Linked DNA regions of Homo sapiens: region 2 is linked to region 1. The links are contacts of gene promoters, found by promoter capture Hi-C in human tissues and cell types (Jung and others, 2019). All regions are on one chromosome and are shown on one strand. Each heading gives the region's core, a stretch centred on a gene start or on the middle of the fragment in contact. The rest is flanking DNA. Distances are from core to core; before and after follow the strand shown. Region 1 holds the start of CST8 (cystatin 8). Region 2 has its middle 25 kb from the start of CST9L.

Region 1 (4,486 bases), core at 226-2,725:
CCCTTGCTCATAGAACCCATTGATCTTTGCAGCCTAGGAAGAATGCTCACCTCTCTGCCTCACCAGGAACTTTCTGGACACTGATTTGGGATTTTCACAGAAAAGCAGAAGCTTTGAGAGCTTAACAGGTGCGTGCCCCCCTCCTCCCACTAAGGGCCAGGCCTGGGCATCAGAGTGGGCCACGTGACCCTTACCCTGGCAGGACAGGGCAGGGGGTTACTGTTGGCCCAAGCCAAGGGAGTTCAGAGGCCAGGCATTCAGGAAGCCAGAGTCATTGGCACAGGTGGGCAGAAGATGCCAGAGGGGCCCTGTATTAGTCAGGGTTCTTTTAAAGGGACAGAACTAATAGGATATATATGGTTGTGTATATATATAAAGTTAATACTTAATAAACTCCCCTTTATATATATATAAAATATATATATAAATTATATATATATTAATTATATATATAATATATATATAAATTATATATATATTAATTATATATATAATATATATATAAATTATATATATATTAATTATATATAATATATATATAAATTATATATATATTAATTATATATAATATATATATAAATTATATATATATTAATTATATATATAATATATATATAAATTATATATATATTAATTATATATATATAAAATATATATAATTTATATATATAAAATATATATAATTTATATATATAAATTATATATAAAATATATATAATTTATATATATAAATTATATATAAAATATATATAATTTATATATAAAAATTATATATAAATTATATATATAAAATATATATATAAATTGTATATATATAAAATATACATATAAATTATATATATATAAAATATACATAAATTATATATATAAATAATATGTATATAAAAGGGAGTTTATTAAGTATTAACTTACATGATCACAAGGGCCCACAACAGGCTGTCTGCCAAACTGAGGAGCAAGGGGAGCCAGTCTGAGAGTCCCAAAACTGAAGAACTTGGAGTCTGATGTTCGAGGGCAGGAGGCATCTAGCATGGGAGACAGATGTAGACTAGGAGGCTAGGACCATCTCTCCTTTTCACGTTTTTCTGCCTGCTTTATATTCGCTGGCAGCTGATTAGATTGTGCCCACCAGATTAAAGGTGGATCTGCCTTCCCCAGCCCACTGACTCAAATGTTAATCTCTTTTGGAAACACCCTCACAGACACACCCAGGATCAATACTTGGTGTCCTTCGATCAAATCAAGTTGACACTCAGTATTAACCATTGCAGGCCCCTGACTCTGAGGGCACAGCAGGAGGCATTTGCTTGCTCTCTGTGCCCCTGTGAGAGCTGTTTAGACCAAAGGCCGGAGGCTGGCAAGTGGGAGATGTCCTCACTGGGACAAGACACAGGTGCTGAATTACATCACAAAGCGTAACCTCCCTGCAGGGCGTGGACTCAGAGGGGCAAGAGAGACCGCAGACCAGGACCCACAGAGACCCTTGACTGGGCCACAGGCATGAACTAAGAGTGCTGAAGACCTAGGAGAACCACTGGTCAGGTCAGCTCCCAGCTCCACAGGGAGTAAGAAGGAGCTGCAGGCACAGCAGGCTGAAAGTCCACCAAGGGCTGAGGCCACAAGGCCTCTGGGGCAGCCACAGTTTTCATGATCACATCATACAGGACTGAGAAGCAGATAACAAGAGTGACGCTCACAGGGGTAGGCATAGACACACTGGGGCCGAAGGGGAGAGGAACTCTCCCTAGACACACAGATTGCTCTCAGGGTAAGGAGGGGAGGCTGGTAGAGAGACTCCTTAACTGGCATTCCTGGGTGGGTTTCCATGGAGAAAGAGAGGACAAACCCCAAAGAGTGACCCTAATGGCCTGTCTTGAATCCAGCTGGGCTGACGCTAACAGGAGGCAGTGTGTGGCTCGAAGATTCTTGAACCCACAGCAGCAGCTGCGGCCACCCCATCCTGCCCACAGCTCCAGCCCTGAGACGACGAGGAGGAGAGTCGACTTTGCCTCTTGCCCAAGGGACCATGCCCAGGTGCCGGTGGCTCTCCCTGATCCTCCTCACCATTCCCCTGGCCCTGGTGGCCAGGAAAGACCCAAAAAAGAATGAGACAGGGGTGCTGAGGAAATTAAAACCCGTCAATGCCTCAAATGCCAACGTGAAGCAGTGTCTGTGGTTTGCCATGCAAGAATACAACAAAGAGAGCGAGGACAAGTATGTCTTCCTGGTGGTCAAGACACTGCAAGCCCAGCTTCAGGTAAAGGTGTCTTTCCATATAGGTGGACATTTGCATATGGTGGCACAGTTGAAGCCAGACTGAAAGAGTGGGCATATAAGAAAAATATCACTATGCAAAAATCCTAAATATGTGAATGCTTAAGAGCCTAGACACTTCCACAGCATCAATAAGGCAGTGAACACACAGAGCACTTTCTACAAACGCTTGCGCTTTTGTTCTAAGTCCTTCGCATAGATTAACTCATTTAAACCCCAAACTGCAAATCAAATGTTCATGTATTTGCTAAGGTTGGGAGACAGATAGAATGCTAGCCATGAGAAAAGATCTGATAAAGGTGAGTCCAGGTGAACCTGGACCCAACTAGCAGACACTCCTTCATCTCCTGCTGTAATCCTTTAATGCCAGATGAAAACAGATTTAAATGGACATCACAAGTAGCCTTGATTGCATTCAGTCACTAATGAGTTCAACAAATACTAATGTCCTGCTATAAACCTACTGCTGTTCTACTCACTAAAGACTCAGCAGAGAACAAGACAGGCAAACTCATGCCTGCATGGGTCCTCATGGACTGTGTGCTGAGCTGGTGGGAGGGGCTTTGGGTGGGGAAACCCCAGAGGATGGGAGGTTTCACAGGAATCTGAGGGACTGGGGCCTAATGTGGCTGAGGGGGCTGTCCCCTGGTCAGGCCTGTGTGAACCTGAGCATCTCAGGCCCAGGAGAGCTGATGGTTCTGAAGAGCCCACCTTTCACCTCTCAGTCCTCACTGAGCATGCAGCATGCCCTGGGCTTGGGGACAGGAAATGGAATGAGAAGGCCTTGCTTTCAAGGAGGTGACAAACTGGAGAGGAGTCTTTACTCAAGTGTCCAGCTCCAGGAGCCTATGGAGTCCTGACTGATCTTGTTGTACACAGGGCTCCAGGCAGTGGGCATCTTAGCCTTCCGCTAAAGCTCTGTCTGGGGGTGAGGGAGGAAGGAAAGAGGAAAGGACGAGAGTAAGAGTAATTTTTTTTTTTTGTCAAAACTTTAAAAAAGTACAACTCTTTTGAATAAAATTGCATAATTGCTAACCAACAGGTCACAAATCTTCTGGAATACCTTATTGATGTAGAAATTGCCCGCAGCGATTGCAGAAAGCCTTTAAGCACTAATGAAATCTGCGCCATTCAAGAAAACTCCAAGCTGAAAAGGGTAGGTGATGAACCACTCATCTGTGACGGCCTAGGCAGCTCTGAACCCAAGAGAGAAAGCTGAGGCACGCAGACCTTCTCTTTGAGGTCTGGGTGGCTCCCAGTGTTTAGCCCCAGATAGCCAACCCTGTGGCCTTTATAGCAGAAGATCCAGGGCCACGGAACGTGGTGGAACCCTCTGAGCTTCTTTCTCATCCTTCATCCTGCAGAAAGGATGTTGTCAAGACCACTCTTATCTCAAGGGCTCCATTGACTTCTGGCCTTTTGATGCAGGCACACTGGACAACACATAATCACCAAAAGCCTGTCCTCTTGGGTCCAGACAAGCCACCCACTATTGCTGGGCCCATGGTCACTCATCCCCATACAGACACAAAAGGAACTTCATTCATTCACTCATCCACTCATAGAAAATTACTGAGCACCAGGTGCTACGTGCTTTGCACCAGGTCTATTCTGGGTGCTGGAGATTAAGCAATGACTAAGCCAGAGGGTGGCCCCACCCTCCTGGGTTTACAGTTGATTTTTGCTGGGGTCAGTCCAGGTTTCCAGGAAGGTTGGGGCAAACCCACAGACTCCCAACAAAAGGAGGACTTGGCCCAGGGGCTTTTGGCTTCAAGCCTGTATTTTTTATCTCAGAGCAGCTCATAGGCCAGTACTTGGTCCCAGACAGATGAAGGCCTGAGCATTCTGCAGGTTTGCCCAACAGGTGCATCACTGTCCCTGTCTTTACATTGGTGGTTCTCCAATGTGAGCAGGCATCACAATCACTTGGAGGTATTGACAAACCCTGATGACCGGGTTCCACCGGCAGAGTTTCCAATTCAGGAAATGGGATCTAAGAATTTGCATTCTTAATGAGTTCCTGAGTGGTGCTACTGCTGCTGCTGCTGCTGGCCTTAGGATCATTTTGAGAACCACTGCTTTATGCACTGCCATGGCACAGGAAATTGCAGGTACATTTATGAACTGCCCTGCCATTATGTTTGATGAAAACTGCCTCTGTATGCTCAAATGAAACAAACCCTATCATTTCCAGCTCACAATAAATGACCCG
Region 2 (4,407 bases), core at 852-3,351, 52 kb after region 1:
ACAGTGTTCTCATTCCCATGCATGGATCCTGAAACCCACATGTTCTGCAGGACTCTGGTATGAGAGCTACTTGTTTCCTTCCAGCCCTACAGCTGCAAGCTTTCCTCCTTGGTTGCTGGCACATTTTTATTTCCCCAAGGGGTGCAGGACCTGGTAATATTCTTGCAATGTTGCATTCCCTGGGTAGGACTGTCTGTGCAGCATGGGGTCTCTGTAGGCTACAGGGAGTCCATGTGGCTGGATGAGAGTCAGGGCTGGAGATGGGGATTTTCCAATAATAACCTGTCCTTGGGCTCTGATCCTTGCTCTCCTGGAGTGAATAAAGCCACACCCATGATGGCTCAGATCACAAGAGGTGAACTGATGAGGACTCCTCTGGTGAGGGGGCTGGATCCTCTGTTTTCTGATGAGGCGTGGCTGACTCAGACAGATTAGCCCTGCTGAATCTAACTCCTGCCTGGAAATAGGAACTTCTGCTTTTGTTTCCTTCTTTTTAAAATAGAAACTGACTATTCTTTTTGTCTCTTTCAGGTGGTTTTTTGTACTTTTATTGTTGCATCTAAACCATGGAAATTTGAACTCACCATGCTGAAGAAACAATGCAAAGATATGTAGTTATCTTCTAGTGTGTTCTGCCACACTCATTTCCATTTTAAAGAAGAAGCAAAGACACTTGCAAGAACTAGAACAACACAGTTAACCCATTAACTTCATTTGTTTGGCCTTTTTGCATTTTTGTGTGTTCTTCATGGGCTGATGTTGAAAATCCATGATGTGTTTTGACAGCATTGCATAGCCTATTCTTGCTGGATACTTCCCCTACTAGCTGGGATAATCTGCTGCAATAAATGGAAGTGGTTTCTACACCTCACCCAACTCTGAGTACAAATTACTTTTCATGGACAAATCTTTCTAGATAACCAGAGGACCCAGCCCTCAATTGCTTCAAGCATGCTGGCACTCTCTGTAAGGCTCTGAGAGTCTGGCTGCCTTGAGAGTTTCCGTCCATGGATTTCTACGGAAATCTCCCTTCCCAGGACTTTTTGGAAGACACAGCCTGTTAGCTTAGAAAGTTAGTTTTAACCAGATCCAACCAGAGAGACAGCTGGGCCATTTAGAGATTTTCATTGGTTTTGAATTGAAGCAGAAAAGTTAATGATGCAGGGAGAGAAGACTACATTCGTGTGTGTGTGTGTGTTTGTGTGTATGCACACGTGTGCATGTCTGTGCATAAGTGTGTGCTCACAGTTAGATGTATCAGTTAATGCTGTATGACAAGTCACCTGGTCACTTAATGGCTCAAGCAATTGATTTATATGTCTCATGGTGTCTGTGAGTCAGGCATCTCTGGATGGCCAGACTGGGCAGCTCTGGTTGTCACATCTCATTGGGTTACACTCTGATATTGACTGTGCTGCCATTATTTAAAGGTTTGATGGACTCTGGAGAATCCTTTCCAAGGTAGCTCACTCCCATGCCTGCAGGTTGATAATGGTTATTGACTGAGGTCTCTGTTCTCCACGTGGCTTCTCCACAAGACTGTACGTCAGCTTGGTATCCTGGATGACTTGTTCCAGACACAGTGTTCCCAGAGACCAAGATGGAAGCCACTGTATCCTTTGTAAACTAGACTCAACCCAGAACAGCCCTGGCTCAGTGTGGACTACACAACGACATAAAGATAGAGATTAGGGTCACTGGAGGCCATCTGGGAGGCCAGCCACTACAGTGTGTACACATGTGTGCATGTGTGCGCATGCATGTGTATGGAGAGTGGACTAAGGTGATACCATGACCGTAAAGAGGCACTTTTGAAATCCTGATGCTTAGACAGCAGCACCAATGTGCAGGCTGGGGCAAGGAGACAATATTGTGTAATAACCAGTAGTAATACAGGGTCAGATTCTAACTTAGACACATGACGGAAGGATGGTGATGCTCAGAGGCCACCTGCATGACAGCTGTCCTTGAGGGCTCTTCTCCGACAGGGCTGACTGCAACCTTCTGAGCCTCTCTGCCTAATGGCTTTCTCTGCCAATGAAGGGCAGGCTGGAGTGCCAGTGGGTAATACCCTTGAGAGGAGCCCTCAGCCAATGATAGAATTTGGAGGATAAACATCCTGGCCTTTTATCCCCTGGGATATAACGCCAAGTTGTGTCTACCCAGTCACTGAGGAGTGTCCTGCAAGACTGAGCCCTAGCTATCCATATTGCTAATCTCACTATCCGTGCTGCTTCTGCCCCTTACTATTTCCACTTTTCAACTGCCTTTCTGGAATCATTTCTAAATAAGCCACTTGTACTTGAATTTTTTGTCTCCAAGTCAGCTTCTGGAGGAGCCAACTTGATAGTGGAACCCAGATCTACTGTAAATGGCACCCTGAGACCCCCAGGGGCTTGCCTGGCTGAGATCAGAAATCAGGATACCCTTTACCTTGACAACGGAAAAACCAAATTCTGCCAAAATATTTAAAGAGGTTTATTCTGAGCCATATGAGTGACCAAGAAAGGGAAACACAGTCTCAAGAGGTCCTGAGAAAGTGTGGCTGAGGTGGTCCGGTTACAGGTTAGTTTGAAGCATGTCATGGAGCCAGGAGTTGCAGGTAAAATTATAAATCAATACATGGAAGGTATATATTGGTTTGGTCCCAAAAGGTGGGACATCTCAAGGCATTGGCTTACAAGTTTTAGGTGGGTTTAGGGATTCTTTAGTTTGAAATTGGTAGAAAAAGTTAAGCTTTGTCTAAAACATGGAGTCAGTAGAAAGGAATGCTAAGGGGCTCTACTATCTGTCAGGTGATGCCATGCCAGAGTCAGGTTGGAAAACAAGTCACAATGTACTGGGTCAGAAAGGACCTTTTTGATGAAATTTTATGGTTTGCAAGGCATGATTCCTCAGGTCCTTAAACAGGAATTTCAGAAATAAAGAAAAAAAGGTAAGAGGTCAGTCCTCAACCTGCACTCTCTAACATCTGCCAGCAGTTGAGCTCTTGGGTGGCGGGCAGGTGAAGTGGCGTTCTTCATGGCCCCGCACAACCCTGGGCCCCTTTCTTTCCCATGTGCTGGCAGGGTTGTGGGGACACTGTCAGAGCAGTTCTTGTTCCATTCTCTCCCTGCCTCAGGAATGGGATCCCTATGCTACTAGCTGCAGCACCTGAGGACACATCTCTCTCATCTACCCTCGCCTTCATCCCCAAGCTCCGTGGGTATGCAACCTGTCCATCTGGGGGACTTGGTCTCCCTTGCTTCTTGGCCTGAGCTGGCCAGCCCTATGTGGTCTCATGAGCAGCCCATGGAGGAAGGTGTTCTTTGCTGAGCCCTGACAGTGTGATTGAACATTGGAGGGACCTGGGTCTTCACATGTCCCGGGCTGCTTGTTTCCATCATACTCATACCCCATGTTGTCTTAGGGCATACCAAACCCTACTGCCCACATCTAAGGTCAGTTTTGTTAATGTGATCTGTGCATGGGTTCAGGTTTAGCTCTTCAAAACCATCTGGCCTCTGTTGACCCACTGAGTCAGAGTCAGGATGAAGAATTAAGATCAAGACAGTTTCACTGACTCATGGAATTTTTGAGTTTATTGACTAACAGCAATATTTTTATATGAGCATGAAAGGAAATGGAATGTGTGGACATAGAGGCTCCTGAGACACCTCTAAATTGTCTCCTTCTCTACCAAGGCCGTGTTAGCCTTGGCCACACCAGGAAGGACACAGACATATATCAAAGAGGCTTCATGCAGTGTAGCTTGCCCTTCCACCTTCTACCACGTGAGGACACAGCAGGGAGGCCCTCACAAGATGCTGGCACCTTGGTCCTGGGCTTCCCAACCTCTAGAGCTGTGAAAAATAAATTTCTGTTTCCTGTAAATTAACCAGCCTGTGTTATTCTGTTATAGCAGCACAAACAGAAGAGGACAGTTCCTTTCCTGGGCTCAGCAGGGGCCAGGGAAGAACCAGAACTCCAACTCACAGGAGGTATGTGGACATGAGGGACTCTGGGTCTTGGGACCTGAAGTGGAGATTTGGAGTGAGTGGGAGTTGTCCTGAGACCACATACAGGGCCAGGACTGACAGCTGAGATGTTTCCTTGTGTATGTATCCCGGCAGTTCCCTGCCCTCCCCAGGCTCCACCCCATCTTCCCTTCCTCTGCCTCAAGGAGAGAGGTTTGGGGAGTCTGCAAAAACCTCACATTTTCCTCATCACTTTGTGTTCATTATTATGGTCAATCTCCCCAAGGCTGTGTCCCAGCCCTGACCCCCTGAGAAAAATGAGGAAAGTATCCACATGTCCTCCAGCAGATGGGAAAGTGGCCACAAGGTAGAATAAAGTAGTGTATATGTAGCATATTTTGGAACTAATTTATACTTAGTGTTTTCTTCTACTGCCACTTTTGACTTCAGC

The links. The method cuts DNA at HindIII sites, captures the fragments that hold promoters and counts their contacts. A contact is called where the count stands out against the background at its distance.
Region 2: a fragment that was not itself captured here is called in contact with the fragment with the promoter of CST8 in region 1 in 1 of the 25 tissues and cell types used here (stomach).

The regions. Positions count from the first base shown.
Region 1 is chr20:23,489,642-23,494,127 of GRCh38, forward strand. It overlaps CST8 (cystatin 8), which reads left to right and starts at 1,476. Exons shown (of 4, transcript NM_005492.4): 1 at 1,476-1,701; 2 at 1,884-2,257; 3 at 3,317-3,430. The coding sequence starts at 2,027. RefSeq lists an enhancer at 940-1,440. The HindIII fragment of the contact is 12,460 bases long and covers 1-4,486 here.
Region 2 is chr20:23,541,143-23,545,549 of GRCh38, forward strand. It overlaps the pseudogene CST13P. Among named protein-coding and RNA genes, the nearest start is that of CST9L, 25 kb to the right of the region's middle. The HindIII fragment of the contact is 4,942 bases long and covers 1-4,407 here.